2 separate regions of the Homo sapiens genome follow, and region 2 is linked to region 1. Evidence: promoter capture Hi-C in human tissues and cell types (Jung and others, 2019). All regions are on one chromosome and are shown on one strand. Each heading gives the region's core, a stretch centred on a gene start or on the middle of the fragment in contact. The rest is flanking DNA. Distances are from core to core; before and after follow the strand shown.

Region 1 (5,366 bases), core at 2,063-4,562:
TAGTTCTCAGTGAAGAAAATGGGAAAGGCTGGGCTAATAATATAGAATTTGACTGGAGCCTTGAAGTAGAATTTGAAACAATGGAAGAAAAAAAGAAAGCTATTCTAAGTAGAAAAATAAGGAATTGACAATGAAGAATGGGAAAGGCAGGCCAGTGAACTCGTGAATTTGGCCTAAACATAGTGTGCAAGAGGGAAAGATAGCCACGGAGCCCACAGAGGTGAGTTGGAGCCAAATCGTGACCTTAAACCCTAGGGTACTTTGAATGTCCTGAAGACATCTAATGATTTTCAGCAGATCAGTCCTGCATTTTTGGATAACTGTGACAACAGGTATAAAAGATGAACTGGAACAGGAGAGAAGGAAGCACAGAGAGATTATATGGGAGTTTGTCACCATGGTGAAAGATCAAAAGGGTTTGAACCAAAGAGAGATTAGCAGTGGAACAGAAAATAGGAGATGGCACAGAAAACCCTAGTAGGGTGTAAAGACAGAATTGGAATGGGATGTTAGCAGGGGGCTGGTGGTGCACCTGGGGAAGAAAGCAGAGGTTTCTGGTTTGGGTGATTGTCTATATGAAAACGGGATAAACAAAGGAGGGCAGGGCATGACGATACAACAGATCAGAAGGAAACACTGGGGAAACTTATCTGAGCCGTGTTCCCCAACAAAACTCTGTCTTGAGCTAAGGAAAAGAAAAAGAGGGGAAGGCCTCACTTCACCCCTGAGTGCTTTTTGGAGTAGGGTCTCTGGGTCTCTCAAGATCCTTTCAAGTGGCCAGTGAAGTCAAAACTATTTTCATAACAATACTGAGACGTTACTGCGTTTTTCACTGTGTTGACATTTGCCCTCATGGTGCAAGAACAAGGATGGGGACTGGTGGTCATTGTATTCTTCATCACTGGGCACTCACAGGAAGAGAAAGGGAGAGGGACACGGAGAGGCCAGCAGATCAATGAATTTTAATGCCACGGAATAGGAAAAACCATTGATATGGTTTCAGATTCCACATTGCAACTTTAAGAAACTACCACTTGTTGAGTTTTGGTGTAGTATCAGGGGATTATCCAGAATTATCTCCTGTTTTTCTAAGTCCATATCTGTGTAACACCAGATTAATCAATATAATTTCACCAAAACTACATGCCGTAACAGATTGGATGCAGAAGCAGATCTGAGAATCCAAATGTCTGTTTTTAAGCCAGATATTTAAAATATTAGCAAAAATGTAAAGCAATGCCACTCTTCTCCCGGATTCTTTCATTTGGAGAAATATAGTTATTTTTCATAAAATGTACATTATTTATGTTCACACATAATAGGATTTTTGTTAAAGGACTTACTGAGTAAAGGGCTCTTGAGACCAAAGAGTTTGAGAAGCCCCAGCTTAACCTTCCATATTTCCTGCTCTGAATGTGGTGTCCCTCACAACTGCAACTAGGCAGGAGAGCACCCTGGAAGGGGTTCTCAAACTACTTTGTCTCAGGAACACTTTATCCTCTTAAAATTAATGTGAGGCAGGAGTTTGTTCTTTGTTTCTAAAAGTTTTGCCTGGCTCTGGAAAATCGTAGCTCCTGACTTATTCTGCACTTCATGACAGTGTAATGTTAATTTGTCCAGTTCTGAGAACAAAAACCAAGAAGGATGCATGTTATTTCCCCCCACCCCCAGAGATAAAACACAAATTCCTGTCTCACATTAAAGGAAGTGTCCTGCCTCCCAAACACAGGTCTGTTCCAAACACTTACTCACATTTCAGTGAGTCAGAAGGAAACAGACAGATATTCATCTCCCTGAAACCTGGCTGACTTCCTTCAAAAAGTCTGTAAGGAGCGTCAAAATCGTGTCACCGGTTAGTGAGCAGCCACCTAAGAGCTCTCAGGTGATAGCCGGAGTTTTAGTAAGCAGGTGAGTACCCCAGACAATTCAGAAAAAAATGCCTTCAGGTGTTTGTCAAGGTGAGTAAGTGCAGCCAGTAAGTGACTGATAAGAAAACAGGAAAGAGCCTGGGACTATATAATTTGGGTTCAAAGGGTATTAGTCATAAGCCATCAGCAGCAACATCTGATGCATACCAATTTAATACTTTAACAATGTGACACATCAGCCCTATCTATAGTAAAGAGAAGAGCTTGATTTTTATGAATTATTAAGTCCTTCCCACCTTGAGCCACTTTGCTTCCTAGAGGCAGTATCTCAGGCATCCCATTCAGCTCATAGTAGCATTCCATGAAGATCTGGAATGATGACAATAATGATGATTATTAGACTCATAACTCCTTAAGCTTGATTTATGAAAACAGTTCGTTCCTTCACAAAAGTAGTCACTGGAAGAATTCTGGTTTCAGCAATGTGCTGGAAATTTGTGGCCAAACTTTTGGATAAAACATAAGATTCAGACAAGAAAAATTAATATCCTATTTCTTAGGTTTTTAACTAAAAATCTCGGATATAGAATGTTCTCTTTCCAGATGTGAGACTGAAATAATGGAAGAAAATGGTCACAGTCTATGTCATGGTGTAATGTAGACAGGGAGAGTCACAAGTGCATGTATGGGCTCTCAGCCTTTTCTCTGGCCTTGAAGTTAATCTCCTAAACTCAGTCATTAAATCAGCTCTTAATTATCTCGGAGGAGAGGAAGTAATGATGATTTCTCTCTCTCTGTCTCTCTGTCACACACACACACACACACACAGCTCTTGCAGCAGGTATTGCTTAAATATCACCTTGGATAATCATAACTTGTGAGCAGATCTTCTTTCCTGATGAGTTAGTTTCTAACCTGGTCATTCTGCGCTTATTTTTGTCCCTTTCTCCACCCACTTAGGAAAAACAGAGAAAGGGACGCACCGCGCAGCCCCTAGGCACTGTGGTTTAGGGCTAGTGCCCTCGGCACCCGCTGCCAGGAGCCGGGCGCTGCCAAGGGCTGCGGAGGGGCCACGTTCTCCCGGGGACTGGGGCATCTCCTGCGTGCTGGCGACAGGCTGCGGGGGCGGAGTGGTGCCAGGGCGGGCGCTCGCCCGTCGGATATGCCCACCCGTCCCGTCCAGGGCAGGAAAGCCTGCCAGGGCGCCATCCCCATCCCCACCGCCTCCAGGCTGCCGGGGCTGGGCCGCTGTACGGGAGCCAAGGTGCGGTGCCCCGCGTGTGGACGAGCCGAGGTGCAGCCCGCGGGGCCGCAGGGCCGGGGTGGGGCGGGGCGCGGCCGGAGCAGATCCGGTGTTTGCGGAATCAGGAGGGGCGGGCTGGGGCGGGCCCTCGGCGCTGCAGGAGCTGCCCAGAAACTTTTCCCTGCTCTCACCGGGCGGGGGAGAGAAGCCCTCTGGACAGCTTCTAGAGTGTGCAGGTTCTCGTATCCCTCGGCCAAGGGTATCCTCTGCAAACCTCTGCAAACCCAGCGCAACTACGGTCCCCCGGTCAGACCCAGGATGGGGCCAGAACGGACAGGGGCCGCGCCGCTGCCGCTGCTGCTGGTGTTAGCGCTCAGTCAAGGTAAGCGGGGATTTCGCTCTGCATCGGCTGCAGGAGGGACCCGCGCGGCTTCCTGGGGCTCGCTGGAGGGATTGGGCGGAACTAGGGAGCGAGCTCCGTGTGTTCCCTCGGATTCCACGTGGACTCGGGCTCCCAGCCACCAGGACCTGCTTGGAAAGAGATACTTCTTCGTTCCCTTCCTGCTATCCCAGGCCTTGCGTCCCCATTAGGCGCGTCTCGCCCTGTCTGTTAAGCACCCTCCAAAGTCATCTCAGTGAGTGCTTTGTTTTAGGTACACACACGCACACACACACACACACACACAGACAGACACGCACGCACTCAAGCATGGACAGTGTGGGGATCCGCGGGTGTCCTGGAGACCGCGAGTCCTGCAGCCCAACTTCCCCTGGCTCAGACAGGTGCCGCGCCTGCCAGAGACCAGGGAAATCCGGAATCCATTGCTGATGGCGGCCTGCAGCTCCCCAGCGCGGTGCTTGCTGGCTTTGCAGAAGCCTGCGAGCCCCAAAATGCTTATTTTTCAACCCAAGGATGTGAATAATGCCTCTATTTCTTACTTGAGGACGAAGCGCTGTGTTTCTTCCCGGGGGGACTTGGAATAAACCAAGCGCCACTTAAATACTTGGCAGAGGGGAATTCTTCCTTCCCTTCTGCCTTCCTCTTATTGTTGTAACATTGTCTATTCGACGAATGTAAACTTAGGCTAGGAAAAGTTCTTTTCACTTCTGGATCCTAGATGCCGCAATGAGAGAATAAGCCGGAGCAGCCGCTCTAACTGTAGTGCTGTGGCAGTGGGGCCCGCCCACCTCCTGAGTTCTTTTACACTAAGAGGAGGAAATAAGGCTGGGGTGGAGAGCTTTTGTGGGACCATCGCCTGAGTACTTTTTCCCTGACCATTAGGCAGAGCTAGAGTGTGGTCAAATTTAAGAATTTTAGTTTATTTGGAGGGAGAAGGAGACACGTTTGTATAATGTAGTTTGAACAGCGATCAAAACAAAACAAAAAAGTTGTCTCTGATTTTAAAGTGTGTGTGTGGTTTTTTTTTTTTTTTTTTACAAAGAAGATAAATATTTCCTAAGCTGTCCTCCTTTGAGACTGACATTCAGCCACTTGCTATTCTTTATTGTGGAGGAATGAATCCTAGTCCACGTCAACCTGGTGGCATTTTCTCCAGGTCAGAGATAAGAGAGAAATAGCACCACTGTCCCCAGCCCGAGCAGAGAATGGGCATCTTAGGTTTTCTGTCTCACCTGTATTGGGTGCTTCAGATACTTTCTCCGGGAACCAGATGAGTTGTTTTGAGGGGCCACCAACCCTAATCTACGGATTTCAGGTAAAGTTGTACTTGACATTGAAAATGAGTCTCTGGAATACAACTAGAGCTAATAGAAATATAAACCCAAGCTTTTCATCTCTCTGTAATTACCCAGTATTAAAATAAGCTGTGGAAACATAACATCATTTTCTTATCTTTGAAATGTTGAGGCTTGTTATGTAAAGAGCAGTGAGAAATTCTTTAATGGAATGTAACGCTGCAAGGCATGAAGTCAGGAACAGAGACTTAACCTGGAGTTAATAAGGACACCTCAGGGCAAGCAAGCAGAGATGATCGAAAATAACATCTGCAAAAGTTTTGTGCATTTATTCCCTCCTCCTACTCCAGCCATTTGTATACTCAAGGAACAGGTTTTCTCTTAATTTAAGATCCTCATAAGAAAGCTCTCTCATTTGTGATATCACTTGAGGTTCCTGGAGAAGCAGCATCGTTTTTTGGTACCATGAGTATCCCAGGTTAACATGAATAAGTGAAATCTCTAGCTCAGTAGTATCTAAAATTTTGTATGGCATTACCCTATCTGTATAAAATTTCTCA
Region 2 (5,268 bases), core at 2,686-5,185, 41 kb before region 1:
GCGGGAGAGGCTGCAGAACAGACATGCCCCAGTCCCATGGGGAATGCCTGCTTTCTCCTGGCTTGTGGTCACCTGGGGCTAGAGCCTCTCTGAAGGAGATGGGGAGTCCGAGGGGATGGGCACCTATGTCTGTGCTCTGCTCACAAAAGCTCCTGGGCTCCATGCTAGCTGAAGCCCTGTCTCTACCTGCTCCCTGGGAAAATCCACCTGCCAGCTCACACATCCATTGGAGATGTTGGGTACTCTGTAGCTTAGATCCCAGATGTCTGTGGCAAGAGTGAGCTGTCCCTCAGTCCCCTCCCTCACCCCTTCTCCAGGAGCCATTTAGGGCCAGGAAGTAGCCCAAGCATTCAGGTACCCTACGCAGGGTTCCCAGCTTCTCCCTCTTCAGCCTCAGCATCTGTGTTGCCTCTCCACACACTTGCGGTGTTTTCTCCCTAGAGATCAGATCTGCCCAAATTATATTATTTACTTGATAATTTGGGATCTCTTAGTGGGAGAGATGGCTGTGTCTAGTTAGCCATCTTGTCCCCCTAGATCATCAATTTCATTTTTAATCCTAAATAAGTGCCTAGATAAACTTCATCACCAGAATGTAGTTGTTTCATGTCTTGCTACATTAAAGGTAGGCAGAGTTTGAGGTTTGTTTTTTCTAATGATAAATCAATACAAAATATTTTTAAAATTTTTTTTCATTCCATAACGAGGATCTAAGTAAGGATTTTCAGTGGCAAATGAGGGAGGACAAGTGCACGGTTATTATTTGATACTACCAGTTCCATTTGGAAGTTAACAAAACTGGAATTTTTAATCTCTCAGAAAAATCTTAGCTTTTATAAATGTCCTACTCAAACATGACTAGCTCTCATTTTGATTAGCATCATATATTAAGAACAAATCCTATTTGCTTTTCAGTCATATTTTTCCAGCTTAAATCTTACTATAAGGGGAGAACTTCGGAGTGAAAATGCATCTCTGGTTTTAAGTAGCAGCAATCAAAAAAGAGAGGTAAGTGCAACATGAGTTTTGAAAACATTATGCATTTCACTCTGAATTTTGTGACATAATGTTTTATAATTGTTGATAGTCCCTTAAGCAGTGACTGGTATTGCTCTCGGTAAGTGACAGACACTATTTGCTTCAAATTATACTTCATTAGCTTCAAATGTGATTTTAGTCTTATTCATCCTTGTAAGACACTGGGAAAATCATGATATTTACAATTCACATGCCGCATTTGACTTTATCACTTATAACTATCACGGTAAATGGATGTTTTTACTTTCACTTTGATAACAAATGATGCAGTTGTAACTTTCCTCCTTAAAAGCTGACATTATAAAATGCAGCTGATATCTGAAGAGCAGCCGCAAAAAACAACTTCTTTATAAAAAGTGCCTTTATACTGTACAGGAAAACATGTACATTTTTTAAAGTTTTCTTTCAAATTTCATTGAGAAATTTGAAACAAAAAAGTGATGGTATTTCCTAATACAAATTCAGACTTGAGTCCTCAGTAAAAATAGAAAGGTTTGAGTTTTTAACTCTTGTCCTTTTTATAAATTAATAAGCCAAGGTGACGGAGTAAGACCCCATCTCTAAAAAAATAAAATAAAATAAGTACTTGTTACACATGCAGGCACTTCAGCATGATCTCCCCCCTTCTCATGGGAGACTTTAAATATCCCATGTGGATAACAGCACCATGTGAATCATAAAATTCAATTTGGAAGCTCCCTAACTTTCAGATGTTCTTTTTAAATTGCTTATTTCAAATTTTTCCAATATCAATGACTTCTGATAAGTATACGCTTTTCAAGAAAAAGGAAAATACATGCATATAATGTTTACTTATGTCATAAAGAGCGCTTAGCATAAGCAATGCAAAATGCAAAGTTGTTCCTTACATAGAATAGCCAACATTTCACTAAAACCTAAAAAATTTGAGTATGGTTTATGTTGGAAAAGTACATATGATTCCTAAATTTATGTGTTAAAATTTTATAATGAGTTTTATTTTCCCTAAATATTAGTTAAAAATTCCCCTGGAAATATTTATTCTACATTCATCCTAAAGGAAAAATTATATCTATATTGATAAAATTACTAAAAGTGATCATTTTGTAATTGTGTGATCTGAGGAAAGTCACTGATCTTATCTAGATTCCGGTTTCCATATCTGTAAGTTCAGGGAATTGTTTTACATATGTTTAAAATCTGCCTTGCTGGGCTTAGTGGCTCATGTCTGTCATCCCAGCCTACTCGGGAGACTGAGATGGAAGGATCACTTTAGCCCAGGAGTTTGAGATCAGCCTGGGCAAAATAGTGAAACCCCATCTGTGTTTTGTTTTGTTTTGTTTTAAGAAACTGTCATAATGGTCTGATGCTGTATATGTCTACATTCTTGCCAGCTCTGTCACCTACCTGGAGTGATTTGAGAGGTTTTGATTAGTATCATGCATATACAAATCTCTCCCCTGTTAGTTTCTTTTTCTACCCTAATCTTCCCTCTAGGTAAAGAAATTGAGGTGTTACTGTTAAAGGCAAATACAGGGCTTGAACTATTACTAGCCATTGATATCTACCCTAAATTAATTTTTTTCAAATCCCCCAGGGATGAGACACAGAGCAGATAGGTTTCATTGAGGTTTGAGTGCCACCCTGAGAGAGCTTGAGTAGCTGGAACACTAAAAGCGGTCCATTTTACAGCTTTGCTTCAGTTAAAACCTGATTTATACATGTGGACCCAGTGATAAGTCAAGTAGAAGAAACATTGTGGTATAATGAAGAGCACACTGGGAGTGAATACATATGCAAACATTCACTTACCCATACACTTGACATGTATGCATTATACTTTCAATTTATAAACAAAAAATTATGCACACTAGAAATAAAATAAGGAGACTTTCTCAGGTTCTTATGACAACAAACTGCGACATTCCAATCTAAACTAATGCTATTGTGATAATACAGTAGTGTACTAATTAATCTTTAACACACATAATACTTTGGTTCTCCCTGAGTTAAACAGAAATTCACTCCTCCCCTTGAGCATTCCAATCCATTGACATTTAACCCTTTATGTATAAATTTCAGAAGGATAATATTATAAATACCTTTTGGTAATAATAAATTTGACATAGTTAGAGATTTAGACTAGATGAAGAGCATTTTCTAATGTAAATCTAATGTTTTCTCATTATATAGTAACGAGATTAATGCACTGGTAGAGAATTGTAGCCTGCAAGAACTCAATGTTCCAGGAGTTCTAATAGGTGTTTATTATGTTAACAATCTTGTTTAATAATTTTCAGCTTGCTATTCAAATATCCAAAGATGGGCTACCGGGCAGAGTGCCATTATGGGTCATCCTGCTGAGTGCTTTTGCCGGATTGTTGCTGTTAATGCTGCTCATTTTAGCACTGTGGAAGGTAAACACCAAAATTCCTTTGACTCTCTACTTCAATCATCAACAGCAAACTGGAGAAATAAGCTCTGATATATTCAGACTATGTAATATAGTATTATTACAGCAATGAAACAAACGTTGAAATGATGACTAAGGGAAAGAAAAAAGAAAAATGCGTATTTCAAACACTGCACACAACTTGACCCAATTTTTGTAAAGGAAAAAAAACTTATTTTAAGTTAGAAATAGTCAAAAATTCACAAAAGTATCTTTCTAGAGTTTAGTATGATAGGGGACTTTCACATGTGTAACAATTAAAATTTTATAATAAGTATGTATTTCTTTTATAAACAGAGAACAATGAAAACTGTCTTTTATAGAGAAAGAAAAAATGAATTCCTATGTCAATTTAAGGATATATAAGCAGTAGATTCAAGGTTAAAATAAGCCTTGTTTTAATCACATCTCCATGTGTCTTAAATATCAAATAATTCTTTAATGTTTAAATATATATGGCACATTTTATGTAATAAATTGTGTGCCTGAGTGGAGGATAAGGGATCAGCTGATGTAGGGGAGATCTTAAAGTTTCACAGACTCCTATTTCAAATTCTGTGGTAAATGTGAGTAACCACCTATTTTGTGTCAAGTAACTCTGGATATTTATGTAATGTTTTGCTTAGGCTGAAATAGACATGATTTTTAAAACTCTTAGCAGCTGTATAATTTTCACATTAAGTAGAATTGAGATGACAGCTTTTGGGATAAGTTGAATAGAGAATAACATCCCATACAGAGTTGAATGTTTTTTCAATTAAATATCAAATAAGCATTTATTCTAGCATAATATCCCCCTAGATTTTACCTATTGTTTTGTTAAATAGTTAAATTATGTTAAAAATATAGGTTGTGGCTACATATTAATTGTTCTATTACCTGAGCAACATAATTATTTAATCAAATAGTTTAAATAGCAAGTTTCTCTCCCACTGAAATACCAACTGTTCCTATCCTTTCTTACTCTCCTATGACTCACTTCCTCTTTTGAGGGGCTTAGTCTCAGAGGAGATGGTGAACAAAGCCAGATGTAGGTCAGTGGCATTTAATTCAGTAAATAGAATCCATGGCTTTTCTCTAGCAAAGTTCCCCAAACAAAATTCTCCACTATAGCCAATGTCCAGCTCTTCCTTCTACTTTATAAGGGATCAGTGTTCTCTCTGTAATACCTAGCTTTGCCACACTGTGGTACCCAAGGCCTGGCTTATTGGTGTCAAGGTTGTACTTGAAATATAGGAAGTGGTTTCTTCATTTCTATGCACCTCTAATAGAGAGTGTTACTGTTGATTTTTTTCAGCATAGTCTTCTGTTCTCAGCACTGCACTTACCTCTATGGTTTTAGAACACCGCTGGCAGGAGAAGAGGAAAACCAGAGCTGATATTTGGATAGGTTCTTTCAGGCCTTGTACCTCTGTTTCAGACAAACAAATAGGAAATTTCAGTCACCTATTTTTCAGTCAGTAGTCTGAAAAAGCATAAATGTAAAACTAAGCTCATTGTTTCATCCAGATAATGATGTGTTGATACATTCTGACAGCTTCTTAGGTTATTATTAATATTATTATTATTGCAGGCCCAAAAGAAGATCATTTGACAAACTTTGGGCTGTCTTACCCGGTAGAAATAGTTCAGCCACTTCATTGGGAGGCCCAGCAATCAGAACTGTGATTCTAAGGTAGAAGGGAAGAAACTAGCTCTTATCGAATGCTTACTATGTGCAGGGAGCTATTTTAAACATTTCTGCTTTAAGCATTCCCACTTAATACTCATATCAACCTTATGAGGTCGTATGAACCTCC

Evidence for each region. The method cuts DNA at HindIII sites, captures the fragments that hold promoters and counts their contacts. A contact is called where the count stands out against the background at its distance.
Region 2: a contact is called between a fragment that was not itself captured here and the fragment with the promoter of ITGA2 in region 1, in 3 of the 25 tissues and cell types used here (IMR-90 fibroblasts, mesendoderm cells and neural progenitor cells).

The regions. Positions count from the first base shown.
Region 1 is chr5:52,986,040-52,991,405 of GRCh38, forward strand. It overlaps ITGA2 (integrin subunit alpha 2), which reads left to right and starts at 3,313. Exons shown (of 30, transcript NM_002203.4): 1 at 3,313-3,493. The coding sequence starts at 3,430. ITGA2-AS1 (ITGA2 antisense RNA 1) reads right to left here and starts at 4,247. Exons shown (of 4, transcript NR_186583.1): 1 at 4,051-4,247; 2 at 2,165-2,237. RefSeq lists an enhancer at 1,453-2,652 and a silencer at 3,117-3,266. The HindIII fragment of the contact is 5,063 bases long and covers 946-5,366 here.
Region 2 is chr5:52,944,028-52,949,295 of GRCh38, forward strand. ITGA1 (integrin subunit alpha 1) reads left to right here. Exons shown (of 29, transcript NM_181501.2): 27 at 916-1,008; 28 at 3,318-3,434. ITGA2-AS1 (ITGA2 antisense RNA 1) reads right to left here. Exons shown (of 4, transcript NR_186583.1): 3 at 4,798-4,880. Among named protein-coding and RNA genes, the nearest start is that of ITGA2, 43 kb to the right of the region's middle. The HindIII fragment of the contact is 4,453 bases long and covers 1,710-5,268 here.